Regions from separate parts of the Homo sapiens genome. Here regions 1, 2, 3, 4, 6 and 7 are each linked to region 5. Evidence: promoter capture Hi-C in 16 types of primary human blood cells and fetal thymus (Javierre and others, 2016). All regions are on one chromosome and are shown on one strand. Each heading gives the region's core, a stretch centred on a gene start or on the middle of the fragment in contact. The rest is flanking DNA. Distances are from core to core; before and after follow the strand shown. Region 1 overlaps LOC102724892 (a long non-coding RNA gene). Region 2 has its middle 67 kb from the start of SSX2IP. Region 3 overlaps TTLL7 (tubulin tyrosine ligase like 7). Region 4 overlaps TTLL7 (tubulin tyrosine ligase like 7). Region 5 holds the start of DNASE2B (deoxyribonuclease 2 beta). Region 6 overlaps TTLL7 (tubulin tyrosine ligase like 7). Region 7 has its middle 51 kb from the start of TTLL7.

Region 1 (4,271 bases), core at 1,377-3,876, 390 kb before region 5:
ATATTCATGGATTCATTTTGGGGCTCACTATTCTTTCCTCTGGTCTATTTGTTTATCTGTCTTCCAATACCACATTATCTTATTTACATAGATTTATCATGACTTACATGATTTACATAGATTTACCACAAATTGCAGGGCAACCCCTACCTCTACCCCATCTCACACACACACACACACACACTTTGTTGTTATTCCTCAAAAGTATCTTGACTATTTGTAGGCTTTTACTCTTCCATGTAAGTTTTGAAATCAGATAATAAGTTTCATGATAAACAATTGAGATATTGACTGGAATTGCATTGTATTTAGGGAGAATTGGCATATTTATGAAATTGGATCTCTCTACCTAGGAACAGTATATCTCTCCATTAGTTTCCGTCTTCTTTAACATTTTTCAATAGCATTTTTTCCATAAAGGTCTTGCTTTTATTTTATTATAGTTTTATTTCTATTGTACTGGTATCTTTTAAAAATTATATTACTACAATTTTTACGGCTGCTTTATGGAAGTGCAATTGATTTTTGTATACCCAGCTACCTTGCAAAACTTAAACTCTTTTTAACTCTAATAATTTAACTATAGATTTTTAAAAATATACTTCATAGGCAATCATATTATCTGCTAATAATTATTATTTTATTCTTTCTTTCCAATTTGCGTACCTTTTTATTTTCCTTTTTAAAATTTTACTGATGAGAATCAGTAGAATAATGTTGAATAGAATGATAATATTGAGCATCTTCAACTTGTTCCTGATTTTAAAGGAAATAGTTGTAAGTTTTATTATTAAGAATATTATCTGCCATAAATTTTTGTTTTTGACCTTTATCCTGTTAAACGAGTTACCTTCTTAATTATAATTTTCAGTGTTTCTACCACAAATTAGGTTGCTTTTTCTCAAATGCTTTTTGCCGTATATTAAAGTTATAAAATTGTCAGCTGGGTGCGGTGGTTCACGCCTGTAATCCCAGCATTTTGGGAGGCTGAGGCTGGCAGATCACCTGAGGTCAGGAATTTGAGACCAGCCTGGCCAACATGGTGAAACCCTGTCTCTACTAAAAATACAAAAATTAGCTTGTTGTGATGGTGCGCCTCTGTAATCCCAGCTACTCAGGAGGCTGAGGCAGGAGAATCGCTTGAGCCCAGGACGCAGAGGTTGCAGTGAGCAGAGATCATCCGACTGCACTCCAGCCTGGGTAACAGAGTGAGAGTCTATCTCAAAAAAAAAGGAAAAGGAAAAGAAATGATAAAATTGTCTTCTTTCTCTAATCTGTTAATATAAGGAATTGCGTTAATTAATTTTATAATGTTAACCCAGCTTTGCATTCCTGGGATAAACCCAACTTAGTGTGATGGACTTTTTTTCATACCCTGCTGGATTTGGTCGATAATAGTTTGCTTAGAATTTTGGCGAATTTGCATGTGAATAAGATTGGCCAATAATTTTCCTTTCTAGTACTATTTAATTTGATTTTAGGATCAATGTTATACTGATCTCAGGATGAAAAGGAAGAATTTAAGAATGGTGAAAAAGGATGTTAAATTAAGTTTCAATTGAAGCACCAAGATTCAAAAAATATAAACTTTCAAAGTGAAATGTTAGACCAAGATTGCCTTTCCAAAGGAAATATCCAGGAATCATTCCTTCACACTAACAACTCCTTGCCCTCTCAAGCAAATAAATGACTAGAAAGGGGAGTTTAATGGAGATTTGAAGAGGATTTCTTTGGAAAACATTGCTAGTATGAACTGAGCCAACTGAGAAGGGATTCAAGTTTTCCCTGTGGAAAGCTCCATATGCGTCCTCTCCACCTAGGCAGGTCAGCAGACTTGTGTCCAGCTCCCATCTAGAACACAGAAGGCAAGAAAAGGATAGGCTAAGTGGTTTGGTGGTGGATTGAATGAAAGATGCTGCTGGGCTTGAATCAGCTCGTAATCCCCCAGTTTGCCTGGACAAAGCAGTACGATGGTTTCCTTGGCTAGGTATACACAAAAGAGCTGGGAATTGGGTCATCATAGATGAACTCAGAGTCAGGTCAATTGGAGAGGTGAACAGGTTTCATTACAGCATGAGCTAGAGGTGGATACTGCTTTCCTTGGCAGTAAGGGGTAGTAAGTGAGCAACTTCCAGAACACTGTGCATTCATTCAGATCAAAGGAAATCAGCAGTGATAGGGTAAGAAAATAGGTTCTCCAAAGTACACATGAAAGCATTCCATAAGAGAAAGAATCAGCTTCAAATACCTTGCTGATACCAGTTAAGTAAGGACTTTCTGCCTGTCTTCCTTCCCCATCTCCCAGACCTGAAGAGGATCAGAAACAGCAGTAAATGGATGGGGGATGTATGAGTTATTAATTGTCTTTCAGCTCATTCCACCCTTTTATTCCCTGCTTTTTGGTGCTTGGACAGGAACCCTGGAAATCATTTTTCTGCTTTGCCAGCTATTCCCTGTTGGGCTCTGCCAATTGGGGTGCTAGAGGGAAACTCAAAGGCTGGAGGAGCAGAAGGAATGTGCTCCTCCCAGTTGCTTGCTTTGGACTTCCTTTCTGCTCACAGTTCTTGTGAGTATCACTCCAGCACTGCACCTTCACTGCATTGGTGGTAGTTCCTTCCATAGCAGCAGCTGATCCAGTTCGCTATTTCTACCAAACTTGCAGGACCAGACTTGTCACATTCACCCCTTTAACCTGAGACATGACTATGTGCTGACCAGTGCCCCCTGTTCAGAGTCCGGGCCCCAGCCTCCCCCGGCTGCTCTTCTGAGCTGAGACACCACCATCAGTCAATCATCTCCCCCTCCTCAGGGTCAGGGTTTCAGCTCACCAGGATCCTTTGTCTCAGCTTTTAGATTTCAAGAATTCCAATCTCTTCCTTTTATTTCTTCAGCCCTGGGAATGATAGCCATTTCCTCAAATGATTGCTTATGACGCCTTAGCATTCTCTTCTCTCTTCTGTTACCTGGTTAGTAGCTTTATATCTAGTTAATAATTCTTTATATTAAATTATTTCTCAAATAACTGGTGTGTTTTCTGTCCCCTGACTAGTATAGGGGAGGGTGATTGACAAGGTGAGACAGAAAAAAGGAAGAGATTGGATTTTATGTCTTTCCCCCAAACAGGTGGCCTCCCTGCCATAGCCCTTAGCTGGGGGAAAAGAAGGTAGAGTGAAGAGAAGTCTTAACTTTTAAATTGAAAGCCTGGGTTTTCAGGAGTTGAACAATGAGAACACATGGACACAGGAAGGGGAACATCACACACTGGGGCCTGTTGGGGATGGGGGATTAGGGGAGGGATAGCATTAGGAGAAATACCTAATGTAGACAACAGGTTGATGGGTGCAGCAAACCACCATGGCACATGTATACCTATGTAACAAACCTATACATTCTGCACATGTATCCCAGAACTGAAAGCATAATTAAAAAAAAAAAAAGCCTGGCTTTTTATGTCAAGTTACTAATTTGAGTCTGGGTTTGTGTCTGAAAGTGAATAAAGGTATTTCTATTACTCAAGAACAACTATAAAAGTGAATATTTTATAGTTATTTTATATAGGGCTTGCCTGAGTTTTCATCCAATGGCAGGGGAAGGATTGCCTTCACTGAGAAGATTTAAAGGGGCCATAGGAGACAAAACTAATAACTTTCTGGATTATATCCCATGAATCCTGCTTCTTTAACATACTGGTAAATCTTCAGCTGTAATTGAAACGCCTTGTAAAACTCACAAATAAAACTCTCTAAGCCTAGGATTTATTTTGTGGGAAGATTTTTACTGCTGGTTATACAGGCTTTCTATTTCTTTTTTGGTCAGTTTTGGCAAATTATATTTTTCTAGGAATTTGTCCATTTAATGAACATTTCCAGACTTATTGGATAAGGTTTTTCATTTTATATTTTTATTATCTTTTTGACCGTTTGTATTCTACTTTCTCTGCTAATATTATTTGTGCCTTATCTCTTTATATATTTTTTTAGTTTCCTTATACAGTCTTTCCAGAAGTTAGTCTCTTCAAAGTGTTAATTTTTGGCTTCGTTGATTGTACTTATTGTATCTATTATCTAATTTAAGGTTGTCATTTCCTTCTTTTTATTTTCTTTGGGAATTTTGTTTTCTTTCTACCTTCTTATGTTTGATGCTTAGCTTATTAATTTTATGTTTAAAGTGGCATTTTTTCCCAAATAAACATTCAAACCTATAAATTCGTATTCATACATACTTAAGAGAACCCATTGCCGTCCTCTCCCACAGCTGATTTCTCACCTGCA
Region 2 (4,002 bases), core at 750-3,249, 360 kb before region 5:
TTGTGTGAAAACAAATATCTTAATTTTTTAGGGAAACATGATTTTTTTTTCCCAGGGAAAAGCTGATTAAGTATTCACTGATTAAATATGAGAAAAGCATTATTTACGGTTGAAAATTAATCAGACTTAATCCATCTGGTGGCCAAGACCAGCCCTCATACTCAGCCATGTTCAGGGAACAATTGGGGCACTTTGAGCCACAAGGACTGCCGGCAAGCTCTGCCCAGATTGCTGGGGAAGGAGAGGTGGGTGTGTATTATTTATGTTCCCCTTTCAAAACAAACCCATCAAAAGAACAAAGCCTCCCTTCTGCTGGCATCGGCGGCAGCTCTGACATATGGCGCTCCCCAGTTCTTGCTGCCGAGGAGTGGGCGTCGGGGCTGCGTGAAGGTACTGCCTGCAGCCATCTGCTGGGTGCCAGTTCTTTCCACTCCGAGCTGCATTCTAATTGTGAAACAGGGCCACGGGAAGGAGGTGGGGAGGATGCTGGGATACAAGACACAGTTCTGTGACAGAGGAAATGTGCCCGTCCAGATTGCCATTTCTTATGCACGTGGTCCAAGTCCATTCCCCGGGAGGAGCATGTGATCCTGTGTGTGAGAAAAAAAGAAGGTGAAGGGCAGCAGTATGGAGCGAAGGGGGGACCAGGGAACAGGGGGGCGGAGACACTAAAGGGAAGCAGCTATTTATAGGTCCTGACCACAGTTTATCTCCAAATGATATTTTGATATTTCTAGCCTATCCCGCAGATGCCTTTGAAAATAGTCACAAAGAAAGCACCCACAGTGGGTGATAACTGTGTCTTCAGGAGCTATTTGGGTCACAGAATGAATGTTTAGTAAAATGTGATAGGACCATAATCCTTTTTTACTCGGGGATTTCTAAATGGAAGACAGGGAGAATCCATGCATGGCTCGTAGCATTAGTTTGGCTTTTTTGTGTGCAGTAAACTTTGCTCTGTGTCCCTGTAATCTGACAAATAGGGTAGGAGGCAGTGGCAGAAGTCACACAGCACTAAGCTGGGGTGTGTGTGTGTGTGTGTGTGTGTGTGTGTAATGCCTTGAAGCAATTAAACATACAATGTGTGATTTTTCATGTCACATGCTGCATGCTGTTATCCACAGATGACTTGCCCGTGTCTAGGCACTCTGCCACAGGAAAGATGCAAACACACATAGATACACATTTATAAAACCAACTGGAAACACGTATTTGTCCTTGGAGAGAATGAAATCCTCCAAAGACTGTTGTTCTGACTTGAGCCATGGAATTTATGACATTAAGCTACCATTCACTGGGTTATGCCAGGGTTTTCTTCTGCTTTATTTTTCTTTCTAAGACCCAGGAATCACACTGACATTACTGAAACCATCACTTCACACCTGGGAGAGTCACAAGACCAGACATTTTCTTCCTGCCCCCGGCATGCCTGGAGACCAAAGCCTTTCAAGGGTTGCTAATCTCTCAGCAAAGGCAGAATAGGTGGAGATGGCATTTCTCTAAGCTAAGAGTTTTTTACTCCCAGACTTAGAGGGAAAAACATAGGAGAAAAAATTTGAGAAAACTATGAACACTTTTGTTTCCTAAGGGCATTTCTCTTTTAGGGTAAAAATAATATAATGGTCCCTGGCCTGTGCATCTACCATCAAGAGACGATGACCTCACCTCTACCATCTTCCCTGGTGGAACCCCTAAGAATGGCCCAGAGCTCACTGGGCCTTGTTTGTGGCATTGACATAAGGGGAGGTCTGGGTGGCTTTGAAATACGCCCTGTTTCTGCTATTTACTCAGTGAAGCGCATGGAGTTGTCTTTCTCCCTAGCCAGTGAATAAAATCTGAAAGTATAAAATTTAATTTGTAAGACTGAGAAGTACGAAATCTGATATTTGTATATCCCAGCAAGCGTTACCTAACACTAGATCAAGGCCGATTTCCAGAGACTGTCAGTATCTAAAAGGATGCTCTACCCTGGCCAGAGTAAAGCAGTTTTAATATCGAGTCATTTTCATTGAGCCTTCATGAGAAAATGAGGTGTGCTTCAGCTCCCGGAGCCTCAGAGTTGGGAAAGAGCAACTCCTTAGAGTAGGGGTTGGCAAAGTTTTTCTGTAAAGGAGCAGATAGTTGGCATTTTAGGCTTTGTGGGTGGAGGCAAAATTGAACAACTATTCTCACTAAAAGGCTTTTTTTAATTTTACAATTTCAGTTTAAAATGTAAAGACTATTCTTAGCTCTCAGGCTGTACAAAATTTGCGGCAGTCTGGATTTGACCAGCAGGTGGACTTTCAAAGTCCCTCTGCAGCGTTCTCATAGGTGGCTGTCTGCACTTAGCTTACGTTCCTCTAAGCCACAGAAAGCTCACCACCTCCCAAGGTCAATAAATCCGCTTTAAAGGAGGCTAAAATGGCTAGAAAGCACTTTTTTATATTGAATTAGAATTTGCCTACTGTATCTTATAACTGAAGCATTACTTTAAGAACTGATTTAAATCATTTTAAGACTGATTTAAATTTCTAGAAATAGTTTTTGATGGAAATCATTCTCTATTCCCTATTCTACTGCCTAGTAGCCATGTTCTAAAGTTGCCTTCGTGTGTTCCAGTCATTATGAAAATAAATTATTGTACTGTGCTGTAATGCAAATTGAAACCCTCAAGACCATTGGGGTTTACAAAGCTATTTGCCTTTATACTAAATATCTCCACACTGCAATGCTCCATGAATTCTTGTTTCTTTTTTTCTTTCAGTTTTTCTACCTGATTACTTATTACAAGGATGCTATCCATGTCTCTCCTTCTTCTTGTCTGTGTGCCTACTGAAACAGTTCACCTCCTCCTCCTAATTAAATGTCTCTAATCTTCCATGGGCTAAAAGTAGCTCTCCATGAGAAAAGATCCCAGGAGCCCTGGGGCCTTTGGTATTTGACTTGAGAACTTTCATCAATAAAGTATTTAAACCACTTGGAGCCTCCTGCTCGCTCTCTTCTCTCTCTCCCCTTCTCTCTCTCTCCCCCCTCCCCCCCTCTCACCCTCTCTCTCACCCCCCCTCACCCCCTCAATACTAGATAGGCTTTTGAGTAAATGTGAAAGTTTTCTAAAAGTCATTATCACCATCTGTGAAATTTGCTGACTATAAATTCCTTGAGGACAAGTGACTTTCTTTCTGAATTTCACAGCCTTAGAGCCTAGTCCAATGCTTCACATACAGTAGAAGTTCAATAAATGGTTCTGAAGGACTGAAAGAATAAGAGGTTTGAGGGTCGTGCTAGGCTGATTTGTTCCAGCATATCTCAATTTTTAGTGGAGGTTTATTGTGTTTGTTTTATTAACACTAACGTTAGGGCTATTAAATAATATCACTTAGAAACCAAAAGAAATTAACCCTCAGGGGTACAATTTGATATAAATAGAGGTAGGCAATTTTCAGTATGCTCTCTATTTCTACAGACCCAACATGGGCTCTCGTGAAACCTGGATCTATGGGATTTATGTAAATGTGAACAGGCTGCACCAGGCTCACAGACTGGCTGTGTAGAAGTGGTCTCTGTTTGTCGTTCAGATGTTGGGAGGTAACAGTGAGCTTTAACTAATTACACCTCAAATCACCCCCAGGAGGTAGGTAATGATTATAGATGTACTTGGCTGAGGTAACTCAGAATGTCTTAATAATCACTTAATAGAATCTTATCATGAGAAGCAAATTGCATTAAATAGGCAAATGAAGTTGACGGTGAGAAGCAGAGTTAGGAAATAAAATGCTATGGGGGGTTTTATATGGGAAAAATCCAATTAACACCTTTTTAAAAGAGTTGGCCCCATGGCTTTTTTCATATCGCTCACAGTACCTATCACAGGGTTATGCCCTGAATAAACACTTTCTCAATCGATGCTAAAGAAATTATAGGTAAAAATGAAGGAGGAAGTGGGAGGTGCACCTAGAAGCCAACATTACAATTCTACTTAGAAGCAAATGGCAAAATAATTTCATTGTGAAGCTACTGTGCAAG
Region 3 (3,711 bases), core at 714-3,213, 480 kb after region 5:
TTGATTCAGAATATGACTCTAGTAGAACGCAGGAAAGGTGTTAGGGCACTTGTGGCTTTTTGCTACCTTTGATGACTATAGAATGAAAACCTTTATAAAGTTCTAAAAATACTTTGTGCAATCATTAAAATTTTGAAAGAGTTTCATTAAATAGTGCCCAGTCAGCAAATACTCACATTAGAATGTTTCTAAGTGAAACTGTTAGTCCAATTATCAGTTTTCTGTCTGGAGGTTTAATATCATTTTGCACTAATCTGTATAGAAATGATTCATAAACTTGAAATCTGGAAAACAGCATGAACTTTCCAGAAATTTTAGTGTCCAATGGGCTAATTTATTGAAGTATTATACTCTAAGATTTTAATACTATACTGTACTATAAAGATACATTTGTTTAGGATAATTAATACAGAATAGATTTTGGCTATGTATTAATTATAATGCCAGATTTTAGTGAAAGTTTCAAGAGAATTTGCTGTGACCCTTTAATATTTCTCCTTTTTTCTGAGCAATCTTCACTAAATAATTTCAGGAATCCTTGCTCTGCATTATTTTGTGGAGATTAATCAACTTGGAAAAATTCTAGAGTCCATTAGTGGTTGTAATTTTAATTAGAATATTTTTTGAAGGAAGAAGATATTTTGGATCTTCTGGAGCAATGTGAAATTGATGATGAAAAGTTGATGGGAAAAACTACCAAGACTCGAGGACCAAAGGTGCAGTATATCTCTACCTTCCTTACTTATCAAAGTAGATGCTACTAGCCCTTGATACTTCTCACTATAAGAAAGACTGGTGCTGCTTTAAAAAAGGAACCACAGGGACTGTGTGCCCAGTGCAGGTAAAGTTTGGAAGATGATGATACCTTACACTCAGGAGTTTGTTTTGTTTTATTAGTTTCATTCGTCATTTTGGTTATTTTCCTGATGACAGTGAAAAGACCATGAGTCAGGGCCAAAAGGGACCCAAGAGCTAGTACTCTTATTCTAAACTAAGTATTAAGTTTGCCTCATACCTCTAGACAGATAATTATCAAATAAATGGGTAACATTATAAATAAGGCAAATCATGAACTCTAGAGACCCTAATTAGAAGCCCTGTCTTTTGCTGACCTAACAACATTGATTTTGTTTTAGTTAAAATAGGTGTAATTCCTAGAAATAAGTAGAAAGCTGTCATGTAGATGACATCTACATGTTCTCCTTTTTTTTTTTTTTTTTGATAACAGGGTCTCACTCTCATCCAGGTTAAAGTCCAGTGGTATGTTCATACCTCACTGTAGCCTCACACTCCTGGGCTCAAGTGATCCTCCTGCCTCAGCCTCCTGAGTAGCTGGGATTACAGGCACATGCCACCATGCCTGGCTAATTAAAAAAAAATTCTTCTTTTTTTTAAAGAGATGGTGTCTCACTGTGTTGCCAAGGCTGGTCTTGAACCCCTGGTTTCAGGCGATCCTCCTGCCTTGGCCTACCAAAGTGCTGGGATTATAGGCATGAGCCACTGCATCCAGTGCTGTTCTTCTGATATATGTCAAAGTTCTTGCTAGTAGAGTAGGAAAGAGTTAAATTAGAAAAATCTTGGATTTTTTTTTCATTCTATTCCATTTATATTTCAGAATTACTATGCTATCTCTTTGTCCTTAGCCACTTTGTCTTCTATCATATTTTCTTTTTTTTAAAATTATACTTTAAGTTTTAGGGTACATGTGCACAACGTGCAGGTTTGTTACATATGTATACATGTGCCATGTTGGTGTGCTGCACCCATTAACTCGTCATTTACTATTAGGTATTTCTCCTAATGCTATCCCTCCCCCCTCCCCCACTCCACAACAGGCACCAGTGTGTGATGTTCCCCTTCCTGTGTCCATGTGTTCTCATTGTTCAATTCCCACCTATGAGTGAGAACATGCGGTGTTTGGTTTTTTGTCCTTGCAATAGTTTGCTGAGGATGATGGTTTCCAGCTTCATCCATGTCCCTACAAAGGACATGAACTCATCCTTTTTTATGGCTGCATAGTATTCCATGGTGTATATGTGCCACATTTTCTTAATCCAGTCTATCATTGTTGAACATTTGGGTTGGTTCCAAGTCTTTGCTATTGTGAATAGTGCTGCAATAAACATATGTGTGCATGTGTCTTTATAGCAGCATGATTTATAATCCTTTGGGGATATACCCAGTAATGGGATGGCTGGGTCAAATGGTATTTCTAGTTCTAGATCCCTGAGGAATCGCCACACTGACTTCCACAATGGTTGAACTAGTTTACAGTCCCACCAACAGTGTAAAAGTGTTCCTATTTCTCCACATCCTCTCCAGCACCTGTTATTTCCTGACTTTTTACTGATGGCCATTCTAACTGGTGTGAGATGGTATCTCATTGTGGTTTTGATTTGCATTTCTCTGATGGTCAGTGATGATGAGCATTTTTTCATGTGTCTTTTGACTGCATAAATGTCTTCTTTTGAGAAGTGTCTGTTCATATCCTTTGCCCACTTGTTGATGGAGTTGTTTTTTTTTCTTGTAAATTTGTTTGAGTTCATTGTAGATTCTGGATATTAGCCCTTTGTCAGATGAGTAGATTGCAAAAATTTTCTCCCATTCTGTAGGTTGCCTGTTCACTCTGATAGTAGTTTCTTTTGCTGTGCAGAAGCTCTTTAGTTTAATTAGATCCCATTTGTCAATTTTGGCTTTTGTTGCCATTGCTTTTGGTGTTTTAGACATGAAGTCCTTGCCCATGCCTATGTCCTGAATGGTATTGCCTAGGTTTTCTTCTAGGGTTTTTATGGTTTTAGGTCTAACATTTAAATCTTTAATCCATCTTGAATTAATTTTAGTATAAGGTGTAAGGAAGGGGTCCAGTTTCAGCTTTCTACATATGGCTAGCTAGTTTTCCCAGCACCATTTATTAAATAGGGAATCCTTTCCCCATTTCTTGTTTTTGTCAGGTTTGTCAAAGATCAGATAGTTGTAGACCTGCGGCATTATTTCTGAGGGCTCTGTTCTGTTCCATTGGTCTATATCTCTGTTTTGGTACCAGTACCATGCTGTTTTGGTTACTGTAGCCTTGTAGTATAGTTTGAAGTCAGGTAGTGTGATGCCTCCAGCTTTGTTCTATCGTATTTTCATGCTTTTCCATGCTTCTGAAATGTCTTCCTACTAAAAAAAAAAGTCATTGACTTGTTGTTTGAGGCTCCTTCCTATTTCAGCTGAACCGCTGTTGCTTGTGTGAAACCTTCCCTCATTTCCCCAGTTAGGCTTAGACCTTCCCTTCTTTCTTTCTCCTGCTGTTCCATAAATAACACTTTTATAGAGCAGTTGTGACAAGTAATTATTTGCATGTTTGCCTCAGTATGAGGTTGCAAGTTCCTGAGGGTAGCAAGTAGATTTTCATCTTTGTATTCTTAGAACCTAGCCAGTGTGTGACACACAGTAGGTTCTCAAAATCCATTAGTTCAATTTGTTAAATATATGCATAAGAACCTCATTGGCTAGTAGAAGAGCAGACAGGTAAATAAAAAACCAGGGAGTAATGTGGCAAGTACTATAATAAAGGGAGTGTAAAGTGCTACAGCCCCATAGAGAAGAAAGGGATTGGTAGCATGTGGATGGCTTCAGAAAGGTAGTGCTATTAGAACTGGATCTTGAAAAATGAGTAGTGCTCTAAGCATTAAGAGAGGTGGAAGAGGCAGAGCACGGTGGCTCACG
Region 4 (4,257 bases), core at 458-2,957, 450 kb after region 5:
AAATGAATTTCTTCAGATATAATCAGAGAAAGCTTTCAGGAAAAAGTGGTATTTTATGTGGAATTTAAGTGTGGTAGAAGCTCAACGGAAGAATAGGGAAGAAATGGTACTCTAGCACAAATGTACTGGAATTATTTTGGTTTTGTTTCAATTTCGTGTATCTATTGGTGCTTGACAGTTCTATGTTCAAGGTTAACATTTGCTTGAAATTTTGGAAAATTGATTCCTTTTGTAAATAAATTCTGTTTCTTTATCTTAAAAATCATTTTGTGCTCACCGTCAAATTTTTTTCTGGTTTTTTTTTTTTTTGAACTAGATAGGAAAACAGGATTTTTGTGGGTAATTTTTACCTATTTGGTCTTTTTAAAAAAGTTATGAGTTTTCTTTTACTTTTTTTCTTATAATTTCATGTGTTGTTATAATTAGCTATTATTTGTTGCATTGTCATCGTGTGCTTACAGTAGAGGTTCTCAACCTTAGCTGCACTGGAATCACATGAAGAGCTTTAGAAATGCTGATGGTTGGGCCCCACTTAGTTCTGGGGTGTGGCCTGGACAGCAGGATTTTCAAAAGCTCCTCATTCAGGCAATTCTGCTTTGCAGCCAAGGTTGAGAAGCCATTGGCTTAAAGCATTTCAGAGGTAACTGAAACATGTTTTCTGCTTTTGGAAAGTAGGTAACTATGGTTTCAAATGAGTGGTGGGATAAATCCGTCATCTCAAATCTCTTGCTTAGAATAAAGCTGATTAGAATTGCCATGGTTGAATGAAGTCCTTGAGTTTGTTAAAGCACTTTGACTAAGGCATAAATGGAATTAAGTAAAGCGCATATATGCATAGTATAATTTTAAGAACTTTAAATTCCTGTATGCCTTGGGGAAGGGATAAAAGTTCTTGTTTTGAACTCTGTACAAATCAGCCATTTGACTTATTATTTAAGTCAAAAACTAACAAATTTGTTTTTAGAATCTAGTATAGTTAGGTGAAGCTTGTTTTTAAAGTCTTGTTGACTTTGTCACCTACTTTCAATGTAATAAGTATTCTGTTACTGTAAAGGGGATCTTTGTTTACTCCAGTAACAAGATGTTGGACAAAAAACTTGTAAACTCAAATAGTTACTTCCCTGAGGTTTCAGAGAGCCTCCAGAAAGAAACTGAACTAAACTTTACACTACTCCTTTCTTTTATTCTGAGAAGTGATCCAGTCTGTTTCCAGCTTGGCATTGGGAGCTGAGATCAGTTTAGAGATGTTTTACTGTGAATTCACTGTTTGAAGTATTGCAAATTCCCAGAATATGGCCATATCTTGCGGCATGTACTGCAGTAGGGTTGGAAACTTCTCATATGTCTATATATTATGTTAGCATGGGGTCTGAAAATAGGGGAGCTTAATGAATAGAATAATTAGAATTGGGTTTAAAGTCTAAGTTTTCTATTTCTAAGCCATGTTACCTTGATTTGTTTAACTTATCTAGCCTTAGTTTCTTTTTCTGGAAAATAGGGAGAAATGATACCTAAATTTAAAGTTTGTTAATGAAATAAAATATTTAAAATGCTTAATAAAATGCCTACCTACAGTTGGTCTGTAATAAATAAAAGTTCCCCGTTTTGATATTGAATTATACTAGACAATCATTTTAGTAAAAATGATACCTGAGAACAAATAAAACCCTAAATTTTCTTTAATATTGAAACATTAATAATAATGAATATTTGGAGTGATATAGGACTCACGTTTTATGTAGCTGAATGTTGGATGTTTCTGAATTTCTGATAAACTTGACAATCTAATAAAGGTGTTGATATTATACCTTTGCTTATCATAATAGGTTTTATTTTTCATTGTGTTTATAGATATTTTACAAGAACTGAAGGATTCTTACAATAAGGAGAAATTAGAAAGTTGATAGTACAGACTGAACAATATGGTATTGTTAGGGCATAAATGCCTACGTTCATATATTTACAATGAAAATACAAGCAAAGTGTACTATAGGCCATGTTGAGATGTAGCCAGATCAAATTAATTCATTGATTGTTGCATTCCTCTGTGTGCCTGAATAAAATCATCATAATAATGACCCCACCCATTTTCTGTCCTTCAAAACTGTTCTCATTTTTTAAGGCACAATTCAAGATGTGGTTTACTTTATTAAGTTGTCCCCCATAATCCTTTATATAGGAATCACTTCTCTGCATTCTGTCAACATGTGACCTCTACCCTGCCTGGCACTTTTCACTGTCTCATATTAAAAGCAGTGTTTCAGGCATTGGGTTGAAGGTTGTGTGGGTTTCTAAATAAGACACTCTGGCATTGACATTAGAAGAATCTTCATTTTAATCTCTGTGTTGTAATTTTCTTTGTAAAGATACACAAAATAATTTGTCCTTTCTAAGCTCAACTTATCTGTAAGATGGGGATAAAAGCTTCTACCTTACAGGTTTGTTGAAAGATTAAATGGTATAATATAAATGCCTAAGATAATAAGTGTTCAATAAATAGTAGTGAATATTGTTATTGCTGTTATTGTTTGTGTATAGTATATTATTTATTGAATATACATGTGACACGTGACTTAATAAAACTTCTTCCCCTAGACTATGCATTCTTTCAGGATAGGAAAGCATCACTTGGCATTTTGCGTAAGGTTTAATAAACCGATTTACAATTATTTGTTGATTGAACACATTAACTTTCACCTTGACTTTTAAAAAGAATAGTCTTGGCATATATGAAAAAAAATTCAAAAAAGTTTTTTCTAAATGACCTTGTTTTAAAATCACTGCAGGTACCTTGTTATCCCATAACTTTGGTATCCTGAAATCTGAGGATTCCACCAAGATAATATGATAAGAACTTTCAGTGATTTGGGGCCATATCCTACTTAGACTAATGTGGAATTTCCAGATTTCCTGAGAGCTTGGTACAGCAGCACACACTGCTTGCTAATCAGCACAGGCAATAATGCCATCTCTGCCTCAAGAAGGAGGTAGGGAAATTGACTTAACTATGTTACAAAATATGGAGGTGTTATACATCATTACTGTTAATATTTTTAAAGTATTAAAAATTAATTGGGGACTTTTTAAAGTACCAGGATTTGTAATTTTACCTTGGTGTGGGGTGGGGGTGGTATTTGTGTTGTCTGGTATAGATTTTTGTTTTCAGTGTTATCTGATTATTTTACATTTTTTTAAAGTTATTCAGGGACCCTCTCCCCTGGATTTGAATACAGAATTACCTTATCAAAGCACAATGAAAAGGAAAGTCAGAAAGAAGAAAAAGAAGGGAACCATTACAGCAAATGTTGCCGGGACAAAGTTTGAAATTGGTAGGTTTCCTTAGAAGCAATCATGGGATTCTCATAATTGCTGGAAAAACTGATTTGGTGTTAAAAACAATGTAGAAATCCAAAGAGATAACTTATCTTTTATATAATGGATTTTTAAATGCCTTCTATAAAATTTCTAACATATTAGAAGGATTCTTTTTCTGTGTGGTAGAAGATGATATCCTTAAAAAGATCCCAACTGATTTCTAAAATTTCAGTTCAAACACTTAATATGATTAGACAGCTTAGCTGAAAAAAGGGACTTGGCATTGTATTTTTCTTTGAAGTTTAATTTTGTCAGCTCTTCAAGCTGTGAATTTCATAATAAGATAGGTTTATATGTGACTGACCTGACAAATTTGAATTTATGAATGTAAAGAAAAAATGGATCTTTCCAATGTTCATATATAACCTGAATGTTCCTAGCCTCATGGGTTTGTGTATACATAAATACCCAAATTTAAGTAACACATTACATTCCTTCTTCTTTTTTTTTTTTTGAGGCGGAGTTTCTGTCGCCCAGGCTGGAGTGCAGTGGCGCAATCTCGGCTCACTGCAAGCTCCGTCTCCCGGGTTCACGCCATTCTCCTGCCTCAGTTTCGCGAGTAGCTGGGACTACAGGCGCCCGCCACCACACCTGGCTAATTTTTTGTATTTTTAGTAGGGACGGGGTTTCACTGTGTTAGCCAGGATGGTCTCTATCTCCTGACCTCGTTATCCGCCCACCTTGGACTCCCAAAGTGCTGGGATTACAGGCGTGAGCCACCGTGCCCAGCCTACGTTCCTTCTAAACGTAACTGCCAGGAGTTCCATTTATCTCACTAAAGTCTTCCCAGGTATCTTTGAGATGCTGCAGGCAGTGTCTCTCATATACTCAGGAACAGTTGTGCTCCTGACATGCTCTTCTGAATTTGTTATTGTTTTCTGC
Region 5 (4,127 bases), core at 809-3,308:
TCAAAGATGTCCCATTAACCCCCAACTCCGTATTTTTGAAACCAAATTTATAATATTTTGCTCCAAATCTGCTCATCCCACACTATTAGGGAACATATTCATGCAGTCTCAGAAGCAGAAGCCTAAAATTATTTCTTTCTTTTTCTTTCTTGTTTTGTTTTTTGTTTTTTTTTGAGACGGAGTCTCATTCTTGTTATTCAGGCTGGAGTGCAATGGCACGATCTTGGTTCACCACAACCTCCGCCTCCTGGGTTCAAGCAATTCTCCTGCCTCAGCCTCCCATGTAGCTGGGATTACAGGCATGCGTCACCATGCCTGGCTAATTTTGTATTTTTAGTAAAGATGGGGTTTCTCCATGTTGGTCAGGCTGGTCTTGAACTCCTGACCTCAGGTGATCTGTCTGCCTAGGCCTCCTAAAGTGCTGGGCTTACAGGCGTGAGCCACCACGCCTGGCCAACCTAAAATTATTTCTTAACATCTCCCTTTCTCCTACTGGCTGCAGCCCATCCATCACCAAGTCTTCTCAGCATGTCCTTCTTTCTATTTCCATGACCGCTTCTTTAACTCAGGTCTACACCTCTTCTCACCTGTAATGCTGCAAAAGTGCTCCTGGTCTCAGTGATTCTAGGCTGCTCCCCATCCATCCAGCCCTCATAGTACTGCCAATGGGTTTCCTAAAGTGCAAATCTGACCATTCACACCCCTGCGTGAAGTCCTCCAATAGCTCCCTTTCAATGTCAAGTTCAAACCTTGTAGCTCAGCACACAGACCCCTTGGCTGTCCCCACCTCTCTAACCTCACCTCCGGTCATCTTCCTGTATTCTCCTGAAGTTCCAGCAATACCAAACTACTTTGCAACTCCCAAATTTCCATGTTGCTTCTTGCCTCTCTACCTCCTCATTGCTCCTTCATTGGCCTGAGATGCTCTTGCACATCCCTTCTTTTTCCAGCTACTTCTTAATTGTTCTTAAAACTTAGCTCAAAAATTACATCCTTAGAGAAGTTTTCTGGGCTCTCTGTTCCCCAGTGTTCCACCTATGCCCTTACCACATAACTGTGAGGTCCTTGAGGGTAGGAACCATGTTTCGTTCATATTTATATTTTCAAAACTCCACACAGACCTCTGTTGAGCTCAGTAACTGAGGAAAGACTGACTACTGCCTTGAGTATATCTGTGTTCTGTAGCCTGAAGTTTACACAAAAAGCTTGACACCAACCATTATGGCAAACCTAAATATCCCAATTAAAGGGTGAAAAAGTAGTTAAAGCTTTAGGAGAACCCATGACTATAATGCAACACAGCATTTAATGTCTTTGACACTGTACAACAGGCCAGTGGCCTACGTACCAATCATGGCAACAGCTGCCTCTGCTTCCAAACAAACCGATGTTAGGCAAACAGTGCTGTGTGTGACCAGGTCCCCCTTCTCTTTCTCATAAGGAGCAGCACATGCTCCATTTTCAGAAAAAAATAATCTGCCTTCTTTACTCTGTCAGTCTTTCAAAGGATGTTGGAAGTGTTCTGTTAGGAAAAGCCATGATGTAATTAAAAGAAATTGCCAGCTCACAGAAGCTGTCAGCTCAATCCCACTTCTGTGGCTACCAGCCTTGCCCCGCTGAGAACAGTGAATCAGGCCCAAGAGGGGCTGCTCAGCTCTTTTTCAGGGGGAAACTCCGTCACTCAGAAGCCTACCCCTGCCTGGGAGTTTGGCCGATTTGCACACTTTAACTTCCTTTATTTGTAAAGGGAGGAAAGAGAATGGACATTCCCCTTAGGAACTTCGCAGTGAGCCAGGCCAACTCTGTACCGAGGCTGTTTGCATGCAGCAGTCCTTCCATTTCATTTACCTACCAGTCCACAGCTTTCCCTTCTTCATTTCTGCATGAAATTGTTGCTGCCCCCAGCACCCCAAAGAGGCCAAGGAAGAGCAAAGCAAAGGATGTTCTTAGCAGTCTTGCCATCATTTTCTGTTTCATTTATTTCATGCCACAGCAGGACACTTTCCCCATAGATTGTGGAGTCTGAGTTTCAAGGCGCTCTCAGGCTGTGCTGGCTCTGACGTTTGATTTGATTTACCTGTGCTGTTCGCTGTTCGGGGCATTTTCAGAGTGGGATGGATCCCATGTAATTGTGCGATTCTGTCACAACATGCCAGCGTGACTCTGGATGCCTTTGTGCTGAATTGTTGACTGGTTTGCAAAGTCATCAAAAAGTTCTGCAGAAAAATAGGGAAAGATAGTTCACTCTTTGGAGTGAACATTGTTGTATGAAATTCATTGGGCAGGGGGACTTCATTTTAATAAGTAGATGTTAAATATATTTCATGTCTTCTCCTGTTTGACTCAATGAATGAGAGCAAATGCAGGTGGTTCGTACATTAAACAGAAATGATAAAACCTTATGTCTTAGTAATAATTAGGATCTGTCACTTAATAATCTCTGTCTTAAGGAACCAGTTGCTAAGGGATACTTCAAAGGGTTGCTTCAAAGTAACAGTAAATTTAACTGTATTTTACCAAAGATGTTTACATATTCTCTCCATCTTCCTGGTTTTAGCCACTCAATGTGGTGCTTCAGGCTGCTATGCAATAGGTAAACATATTGATCACCCACTCTTCAGGTTAATAAAAAATGTTACAAACATCTATTTTGCCCAAACTATGCTTTCTCATTCTCGAAGCTGAATCTGAAGTAGAAAACCAAAATAAAATGGCCCACTACCATAACAACTATAAAAAGGTGAGACCAATTTCTTTGTGAATCAGGGAAGGAGTAGATAGACATATGAAAATAATTTCTTTAATGCATACTTTTGCATCAATTATTAAAGCTGCCATCATAATAAATAGCAGTTTACATCATGCCTGGAAATAATGCTGCCCCTAATCTGTCTCTCTGATAATCACAATGATAACTATAATAGTTCCAGATCAGAGGATCCAGACCAAACTGAACCCTTGTAAATCAGATTACCTCTGTGGTTGCACTAGAACTGTTCACAATTCTCAGGATTCATAGAAAAGGGGAAGGCTTGTGTCTCTATCCTAAGACAGAGTTTTGGGAGGAGGACTCTGTACCACCTGCCCAATTACCTGTGGTGCCTGCAAAAAAGGCAGAATTCTAGGACTTATTCCAAACCTGCTACATCAGAATTCTTCCAGTTGGGCTCAAGAATCTATATTTTTAATAAGCTTATTGGTGATGCTGGTGTACCCTAAAGTTTGAAACTCACTGCCCTGAGGCCAAGACTATGCTGTATTTGGTAGATTCACAGCTTTCTGCAGGTTAAATGAAGAAATATTTTTCTTACCCATTCCTCCATTGGTATTATTATTATTATTATTTTGAGATGAAGTTTTGCTCTTGTTGCCCAGGCTGGAGTGTACCCACCTCGGCCTGGGAATCCATCCACCTCGGCCTCCCAAAGTGCTGGGATTACAGGCATGAACCACTGTGCCTGTTCTCATTTTGTTTTATATATTTTCTTCCTGTGTTCAGAAAAAAGGATTTCAACAACCCCAACCTTTTTGTCAATTTTTAAAAGTTTTTTTAAAAATTATCAGCTGGACGCAGTGGCTTATGCCTGTAATCCCAAAACTTTGGGAGGCTAAGGCAGGAGGATTGCTTGAGCCTGGGAGTTCAAGACCAGCCGGGGCAACATAGCAAGAATGTATCTCTACAAACAATAAAAAAAAAATTAGTCGGGCATAGTGGCACATGCCTGTAGTCCCAGCTGTTCAGGAGGCTGAGGTGGGAGGATTGCTTGAGCCCAGGAAGTGGAGGCTGCAGTGAGCCATGATGGTACCACTGCACTTTTGCCTGGGTGACAGAGTGAGATTGTCTCAAATATATATATATATGTATGTATGTATGTATGTATGTATACTGAGAGAGAGAGAGAGAGAGAGAGAGAGAGAGAGAGAGAGAGAGAGAGAGATTACTCTTCTCTGTTAAAGTAAACACAGAGTCTTGCTGTGTCGCCCAGGCTGGAGTGCGGTGGTGCAATCTCAGCTCACTGCAACCTCCACCTCCCACGTTCAAGTGGTTCTCCCACCTCAGCCTCCTGGGTAGCTGGGATTACAGGTGCCCACCACCAGGCCCGGCTAATTTTTGTATTTTTAGTAGA
Region 6 (3,920 bases), core at 512-3,011, 500 kb after region 5:
CACTAAGGTGGAATTAACAGTGAAAGTTTTTTTTTTTTTTTTTTTTAATGGAAAACACCCAAGGAAGATAATGGGGAGAGAGAGCGCAAGTAGGCAGGAAGAGCCTTAGGGCTACAATGCAGGTCTGACTCCAGTGAATGCAAGGGAGGAGGACTGGGTAGGAAGAACCTCAGACTTTAGTGGATCTCTGAGAAAGTTGTGGTCAGGCTGATGGGGAGCCCAGAACAAAGACTGGCTGTTGAAGGGATCACAGTGAGCAGAAATAGCTCTTCACTCGTATCCCAGCCATGCTTCATCCTTGGCTGGGAACTATCTTGGGAGAGTGTAAGCATGGTTTGAATATTGCAGTGGATCCCCAGTGGGGAAGCCATCAGCTAACTGCATTCTTTGAAACATGTTAATTTAAGTGGCACATCTCCATGGCTGCCACAAAGGCTGTGCGTGATACATTTTAATTTAACAAACATTTATTGATTGCCAATTTTATACAAATAATATGCTAGACACTGTTAGGGATTTTGAGAGTTGTTTACTCATTCATTTATTTGCTCACTTAATCATGCATTCAACAGATATTTATTGAGGGACTACCATGCCCCAGGCACTATTCAAGGTATGGAAGCACAAGACTCTTATTTAAGTATCTTAATTCCATTTAGAGACCATTATGGAAATATATATACCACTTTTCCTGTTCCAGGATTGAGGCATTTGTGGTTATTAGCCTGTTGTAAAGCTCCAAGATTAGAATGACATACACACAGAGTCTTTCACATGCTTTCCTTTTTTCTGTTCTTGGAAATTAAAAAAAAATTATTTGCCTTCAAATTTTCCTTAATGGATGTAAAATGTAAAGATCAAGGGTATGGGAATTAAATCCTGAAAAGAACCCTCACCAGGTGAAAATGGAAATAGTTAATCTTATTTAATGTCATGTTGTGGTAACTCCATACTTGCATAATTTAGCTTTCTGCCAAGAATGCAGTTGCTTTATATAGTTTGTGAGGAATATATATGAAGTATGAAAATATAGTCATGTTGGTGGGCTGCAAAGAATGCCAGATTTGCTGAAAAGCTTATTATCTGATGTGATACCTAAACATAAACTAAGAGTGGAGGATGAAGAGAAATAACTAATGACATTAAGGTTGTACTGTATTTGCATTTATTTTAGGGTGCTAAGAGGTCCTTGTTTATCAAGTATTACTTCTCTAAATAGCAATTTATTTTTAATACCTACTGTGGCTGCTTCTGCATGCATTTTGATGATACTATTTTCCGTCTCTGTTTTATTCAGGCTGACATAGATGCTGTTCAGAGCTGTTCGTTTTGCATCAGCAAAGATGCCTTTACCCTATAGCCATCGCTGCTGCATGCATCATTAGTACAGCATGTAGTGATTTTAATGTTATTTCTAAACCGCCTTCACCTCGTGCCATTATTTTAATTTAGGACCAACTGTTCGGCCATATGGAGCAGTTTGTCATTCAACATCTGTATGCTTTTGCAAAATATGAATTTGTCTGTGTGCTTTATGCCTTCAAATGTGCTATATTTCACATGGAAAAGACAAATCTTTTCATTTTATTAATGTTGTCATTGACTGAATCTCCCATTTGTTTTTTCCCTTGGAGAGCTTAATGTTGGATTGGGATGCTTTTAAAAGTCATAATGTAAGGAAATGGATACCTATATTCTATAAATTAGCCTCACGTAAGCCCACAGATAACACAAGGGCACCTTGCTGATCATTTATTTTTGTGTTTCACGAATTATTCATCTTCCATCCAATTTCTTCAATCCCCAAAGGACCAGAAATCCAAAAAAGCATCACAGGTAGAACTAGCACTAATTTATCTCATTCCAGTCTGATTTCTTGCCTGCCTGGTCTGTGCTTTCTTAAAATTATTAAGTGAGTATTTGGCTAAAAGTACAGTCATTGTCTCCCCATCTGTATAGCCTTCTAAACAAACTATTCCTTACTCCGTGGCCATAAAGGAGGGGGTGCCTAGGCAACCTTGTTTTTACACAGTGATCCCACTCTCCTCCCAAATACCATTTGACTAGAAATGAATCTGAATCTAAGAAGAGATAATGGGGTTCTCTCTAGGCTTTTGCTGCTGGCATCTGGAAAATCTAAATTGTGAGGCAGTGCTGGATGTAGTTAAGAGCGTAGGTCTGGATACAATGAGCTGGGTAATCTTGGGCAAGTTACTTATCTGCTTTGTGCCTGAGTTTTCTCATCCATAAAATGGGGATCCAAAATGTTTTCACGACCAAAAAAATTTTCATAACCCCTAGGCAGCAAAACCTAACCTACCTGAATTCATTTGGTGACAATGACCTGACAAGAAGTTATGTATTGATTTTGTCTATCTCTTGGTTTGAATATTTACATTTTTTTCCTGCAGAATTAATAATATGTATGATTATGGAATCTAAGCTTGAGATTTTTGGAAAGGGACTGTGGACCAATAGTATCTACCTCATGTTTTTGTTTTGAGGACTAAATGAGTTAATATATGTAAAAGTGCTTAGAACAGTGCTTGGCACATGGTAAGTTCTCTCAATGATTTTTTACCTTGTCTACATAGGTGTGACTTTCTTGCAAGGAATGACTTACTAAGACAGGAACCTACTAAATGATAGACCTTGTCTTAAGCCTTGGGGACCTGGTAACTTTATTATCAAGATGGGCACAGTTTACTCCCTTTATATGCATAACAGTCTCCATTAATTAAACAGGAAATTAAAATAAAATAAGGTGCTTGCTAATAAAGGAAGAACTGGGCATTAAGATATCAAACAATAGTTCAGTGGCAGGTAAAGTTTTCCTTAGAAGTGGCATTTGAAGTGAAACATAGAAGTTTATCAGATGAAGAGATAGGAGAAGACTGTTTCAGGCAGAGGAAGGAGCTTATGTGAAGACTCAGAGGAGAGTTGAAGGATTTGGGTTCCTGTTCCCTCAGTCTGTTGTTCCATGCCCTCCAAATTATAGGGGTGGGTCTCCGAGGACCAAAGCTTGCCTTCTTGCGGAGGCTCCTTGAAAACTGAAAGCAAAGAGAAGCAAAGAGGAATGCGTGTTCCCAGTGGTTTGCTCTGGACAGGAAGGAGAATGTGCCTAGTTTGCCCAGACCATGTCAGTCTCACCAATCTGGGAAATTGCTTCTTAGGTAGAGGTGCCTGATGGGGTGCCATGATGCCTGCAGATTTTTCCATCTCCATATTGAAGAAAACATTAGGAATGGAGCAGAAGCATTCCCCATCCCTAACTCCCCGGCTCCATTCTGAAGGTGCTGCTTTTAGTCATGTATGGGCTAGAATATGGTACTGTCATGCTATTAAAATTCCCTCTAAATTAAGAAAATATATGCAGAGTAGTGGTCAAAAGAATCTCCTCTAAGTAATGTGCCTAGCACAGTGTTTTGCATAGAGCAGGCGGATGATACATGTTAGTTGCCCTTGAAGTGTATTTAAAAAGAAATGAATGAATACTCCATGGTCTCAAATCCTTTATCATTTTAAAGTTGAATAATCATTTTATAATATAATGTGAAAACTGATGAACTTAAGGTAACGTTAAAATTGCCAGTATCAATAACATTTTTCAATTTCAGTTATTTTTATATAACTCATATTTATCCTTGAGACTAATACATGGGTTATCTTGGCTACTTTTTTATTCTTTCCTTTCTGCATTATGACTTTTGGCCTATTATTACTTACTAATATATTGACAGAAAGTAGAAAGGAAAAGTGAGAAGAAAAATGATTTAAATTTATCATTTACAGTTAGTGTTGATTCTTATATCACATTAGTCATGAGCACTGCTTTCTACACTAAAAAATATAAAGAGTTAAACTAATAGCTTAAATTAAAATTGTAAAAACTAAAAGGCATGAATTAATGCCTTGATACT
Region 7 (4,105 bases), core at 395-2,894, 350 kb after region 5:
TATTATAGCATCAGACACAGACAAAGACATGGGCCAAGATAGTGAGTGCATAATGCTGTCCTTACCATGTAAATGCTGTTTTTGTTCCTCATCACTTTTATGGATAGAAAAGTTCCCATTCACCAGTTCAGTAGCTACAGAGGCTGTGTTGATTACAGTACAGCATCTGGGATTAGGGCTACCATCTAGTTAAATTTATAGTAGTCCACAGCATATGTTAAAATCCATCTCATTTTTACAGAGGTGAAATAGGCATACTGAACCGGGGGTATGATGAAAAGTACCACCTCTGTGCCCTGTATCCTTTAAATCTCTGATGGTGGTATTATTCTCTGCAATTCCTCCTGGGATATAGATGCTCTGATTTAATATCTTGCATGCTATATGCAAGGGAAGACATTTTTAAGGGCTTCTGCCTAGTCTTTCCCATTACAACAGCTTTTACTCCACAAATCAGAGAACCCATGTGAGGCTTCTGCCTCCTATTGAGTATATCTATCCCTAGTATATATGTGAGGAATAGAGAACTAACCACAGGGAAAGTCATTGACCCATTGAACACAATGTAGGCCAGACTTGGACCAGAACTCCATTTATTACCTAGTTTTTATAAGCCCACCATTCTAAAGAGGACTATAATGTAATTTTTGGTTCCCTTAACTAGAAATCAACTCACATCCCATGTCTAAGAGTTCTAAAAAAATCTGGGTATTACCTCTTTTCCTATCGCACAGTTGCCTTGATAAATGGCCAGACTCTATGAGGAACAATCAAAGGAATGTTTATCATATATACTTGTGGTTTTGTTGCAGGATATTTCCTTAAGGGGGCTTCGCTTCTCTTCAATCAATGGACTCAGTGTGTGAACTGACATAAATATAAAATAGCTGAAGGACTACTATTTTGCATTGCAGCAGCTATGTTGGATATAGTCCAAGTCAAGTAACAACTTTAGTTGGCTATCGATCTGCCTGACTTCTTGGGACACAGTAATCTACTAGCCATTGGAAATGGTCCCCATGAGTTAGAGCACCCCTACTGTTATTCTGGCCTTTCTATCCATTGTTTACATCCACGTTGTCTCTGATGTATAAGTGCCACCACCTGGCCTCTGGCATTCAGAAACTCTTCTACCAACAAGTAGTAAAATTAGTTCCATGGCAGCATCTCCTACCGTCAACTGTAAACTATTGAGTTCCCTCACTCATGGATTCCTCATTGCCTTAATAAAGAAAATGTCCTCTGGCCCTCCCAGGAAATAGAATCAGGTGATGGATTCTCCAGTCTCACATTAAAAATCTAGCAAAATTTCAACATGCAGAGGCTTCTGACTCTTTAATACTATTCCAAAGCATTTCTAATATTCCCATCTCATTTATGTAGGCATCATCATGTCTAAGCTTCAAGATGTTATCTTAAAACCATAGTAGGACTGGCTTTGACAGTCCTTGCTGGAATATTAAATCATAAGGCATGGGAAGATGTTCCGACATCAATAAAATTTCCCCTATTGGTCCCCTTCCCACTAACACCACCAGTCTACTCCCACAAGTGTTCCCTAGTTCCTACAAGCACTTCATAGTCAGCTCCTAAAATTCCTTTTAAGTAGAAGGTGCATTTGACTCATTATTTGCAGTAGTTATGTTCTATAAAGTCATTAAATTAATAAATACTGGACCATTGCTCCTAGGGTAAATAACAGTGTTAGGTTTCTGTGAGCCTCTGGTCACAACATCTTTCTCAACTGATCAACATATAACAATGTTTTATGTATATTTTTGTTTAAAGACACCTTATTTAATATACATTGTGGATGCATTAACATTGAACTCACAGCCAATAGTACTATTCATATGGCTGTACATTCATATGGCTGAATGAAGCTTACCTAACACATATGATGCTTCTCTCCATAAGGCACATCACATCCTTCTTGTGCTTAGGAGCATTAGATAACATTTCATAAGTTTGTCTGGGGGCCATTTTAAAAAGCAAAATTTTGGACACTTATTTTTCAAAAACCAAAATCGCTGACAAAAGGCAGAAAAATGAGAAAAATATGGCATTAAATGGACCAGAAAAAACACATGTTTACAGTATGAGGGCTGAAACAAGTAAGCAGAATGTAGTCTTGTTCAGCCTCAGCTGGGAATGTGCATGATGGTGACTTGAGTTTTTTGCAGCTCTATGTATAACCTTGAATGACCACAAAAGTGCTGTGAATATTGATTTTGGGGCTACCAATAAATTCTAGTGAGTAGGTGGATTTGCAAATACAGAGTCCACAAATAATGAAGAGCAGTTGTATTTCCCCCTAAAGAAGGTACTACATTTCCCCATTCAAGGTAATTGGGGTGAAAAAGGTAGATCTTAAAGACAACAAACATTATCTTTGAAGCGTGTGCCTCATGTCAGTCTCTTGTAAAGATTTTTAGCTAAAGGGAGGCTACTCTCTTCTCATAAGAGGCAGGGATCTGGTCTGCTGTTTAGGGTATTCTAGTGATATTAGTTTCAGTCTTTCCTACAGGTCTAAGGATTCCTTCCTTTTTCTACTAGGGCCTTCTGTGACACTGGAGACCTAGAACGGTTTGGCAATTCTGTCTTTGTCATAACATGGGGAACTCTTATAAAAAGATTCTGAGTCTAATTTTCATACAACCTACAGGAGATAAGAATCGTTTAATAACATTATTGCTGAGTCACAAAAATGTGGAGTTAATAGTTAAAAGACTTGAGCTTGTCTTTTTCCACTTTAAGACTAAGAGTATGCAAAAACCTGCATCCTTATAAAAAAACTCTACAATCCTTATAATTACTCTTGTTCCCATACCTTTCAAATGCCACAGCTATCATATAGTTCAGTGATTTACCTGTCACCTTTACCCCACCCCAATCCTAATGCATAGATAAGAGAGAATAGCCAGGGAAATTCTAAAACAGAAAAAAGTAATGAAAGAGCACTAGTTTTATCTGATATTAAACTATATTTTAAAACCAAAACTATTATAACAGAGTGAAATAACAAGAATTAAATAGGAAATCAATGGAATTGAGTAAAAAAGTATATAGGGAAATGTAGTATATGTTTAAATGTTGCTTTTCAGAGTCATTAAATTTTGGACATACAGTTACATGCTGCATCATGATATTTTGGTCAATGATGGGCTGTGTACACACAATGGTGGTCCCATAAGATTATAGTGGAGCTGAAAAATTCCTATCACCTAGTGACGTCTTGATGATCCTGACCCTGTGTAGGCCTAGGCTAATGTGTGTGTTGTGTATCAATTATTAACAAAAATGTTTAAAAAGTAAAAAAAAATAACATTTAAAATACGAAAAGCTTATAGAATAAGAAATAAAGAATATATTTTGTACAGCTGTACAATGTGTCTGTGTTTTAAGCTACGCTACTATAGAAGTCAAAAAGTTAAAAAAATTTAAAAGTTTATAAAGTAAAAAGTTTATAATGTAAAAAAGTTACAGTAAGCTAAAATGTTAATTTATTATTGAAGAAAGAAAAACATTTTCAATAAATTTAGTGTAGCCTGTGTACAGAGTTTATAAAATCTACCGTAGTGTGCAATGTCTAGGCCTTCACATTCATTTACTGCTTACCCACTGACTTACTCAGAGCAAATTCCAGTCCTGTAAGCTCTATTCATAAGTACCTTATATGAGTGTACCATTTTTTTATCTTTTATGCTGTATATATTTTGACTGTACCTTTTCTACATTTACATATGTTTAAATACACAAATACTAACTAATATATTATAACTGTGTGCAGTATTCAGTACAGTAACTTGCTGTATGGGTTTGGAGCCTAGGAGCAATAGGGTATACCATACAGCCTACGTGTGCAGCAGGCTATACCACCTAGGTTTGTGTAAGTATATTCTATGATGTTTGCACAATGACAAAAATCACCTAACGATACACACTTCTCAGAACATAACTTGCCATTAAGCAATTCATGACTATGTTTGATGGTAGAGGTGAAAGTATTTTCCTGATGGTTCATATGTGGAATATGAAAGTAACAGAAGAGTCAAGGATGATTCCTAAGTGAATGAATAAATGAATGAAACCAGTGTGAAAGAGT

The links. Contacts are between HindIII fragments. The CHiCAGO score rates a contact against its expected background, and 5 or more counts as called.
Region 1: a fragment that was not itself captured here is called in contact with the fragment with the promoter of DNASE2B in region 5 in 1 of 17 cell types (monocytes); the score reaches 5.0 in monocytes.
Region 2: a contact is called between a fragment that was not itself captured here and the fragment with the promoter of DNASE2B in region 5, in 1 of 17 cell types (M0 macrophages). The highest score is 5.2, in M0 macrophages.
Region 3: a contact is called between a fragment that was not itself captured here and the fragment with the promoter of DNASE2B in region 5, in 1 of 17 cell types (naive B cells). The highest score is 5.3, in naive B cells.
Region 4: a contact is called between a fragment that was not itself captured here and the fragment with the promoter of DNASE2B in region 5, in 6 of 17 cell types (erythroblasts, total B cells, total CD8 T cells and 3 more). The highest score is 7.1, in erythroblasts.
Region 6: a contact is called between a fragment that was not itself captured here and the fragment with the promoter of DNASE2B in region 5, in 2 of 17 cell types (endothelial precursors and fetal thymus). The highest score is 5.6, in endothelial precursors.
Region 7: a fragment that was not itself captured here is called in contact with the fragment with the promoter of DNASE2B in region 5 in 1 of 17 cell types (naive B cells); the score reaches 5.1 in naive B cells.

Annotation. Positions count from the first base shown.
Region 1 is chr1:84,787,603-84,791,873 of GRCh38, reverse strand. All of the region lies in intron 2 of LOC102724892 (a long non-coding RNA gene), which reads left to right. Among named protein-coding and RNA genes, the nearest start is that of SSX2IP, 99 kb to the right of the region's middle. The HindIII fragment of the contact is 7,389 bases long and covers 1-4,271 here.
Region 2 is chr1:84,755,787-84,759,788 of GRCh38, reverse strand. No RefSeq gene overlaps it. Among named protein-coding and RNA genes, the nearest start is that of SSX2IP, 67 kb to the right of the region's middle. RefSeq lists an enhancer at 2,581-3,152. The HindIII fragment of the contact is 4,011 bases long and covers 1-4,002 here.
Region 3 is chr1:83,914,609-83,918,319 of GRCh38, reverse strand. TTLL7 (tubulin tyrosine ligase like 7) reads left to right here. Exons shown (of 21, transcript NM_024686.6): 14 at 630-716. Among named protein-coding and RNA genes, the nearest start is that of LINC01725, 55 kb to the right of the region's middle. The HindIII fragment of the contact is 4,769 bases long and covers 1-3,711 here.
Region 4 is chr1:83,950,917-83,955,173 of GRCh38, reverse strand. TTLL7 (tubulin tyrosine ligase like 7) reads left to right here. Exons shown (of 21, transcript NM_024686.6): 2 at 2,787-2,987; 3 at 3,198-3,329. The coding sequence starts at 2,963. Among named protein-coding and RNA genes, the nearest start is that of TTLL7-IT1, 31 kb to the left of the region's middle. The HindIII fragment of the contact is 1,438 bases long and covers 989-2,426 here.
Region 5 is chr1:84,396,415-84,400,541 of GRCh38, reverse strand. It overlaps DNASE2B (deoxyribonuclease 2 beta), which reads right to left and starts at 2,058. Exons shown (of 6, transcript NM_021233.3): 1 at 1,853-2,058. The coding sequence starts at 1,977. The HindIII fragment of the contact is 1,924 bases long and covers 1,271-3,194 here.
Region 6 is chr1:83,893,992-83,897,911 of GRCh38, reverse strand. The region is part of intron 18 of TTLL7 (tubulin tyrosine ligase like 7); the gene reads left to right. Among named protein-coding and RNA genes, the nearest start is that of LINC01725, 35 kb to the right of the region's middle. The HindIII fragment of the contact is 1,368 bases long and covers 1,078-2,445 here.
Region 7 is chr1:84,047,616-84,051,720 of GRCh38, reverse strand. No RefSeq gene overlaps it. Among named protein-coding and RNA genes, the nearest start is that of TTLL7, 51 kb to the right of the region's middle. The HindIII fragment of the contact is 483 bases long and covers 1,403-1,885 here.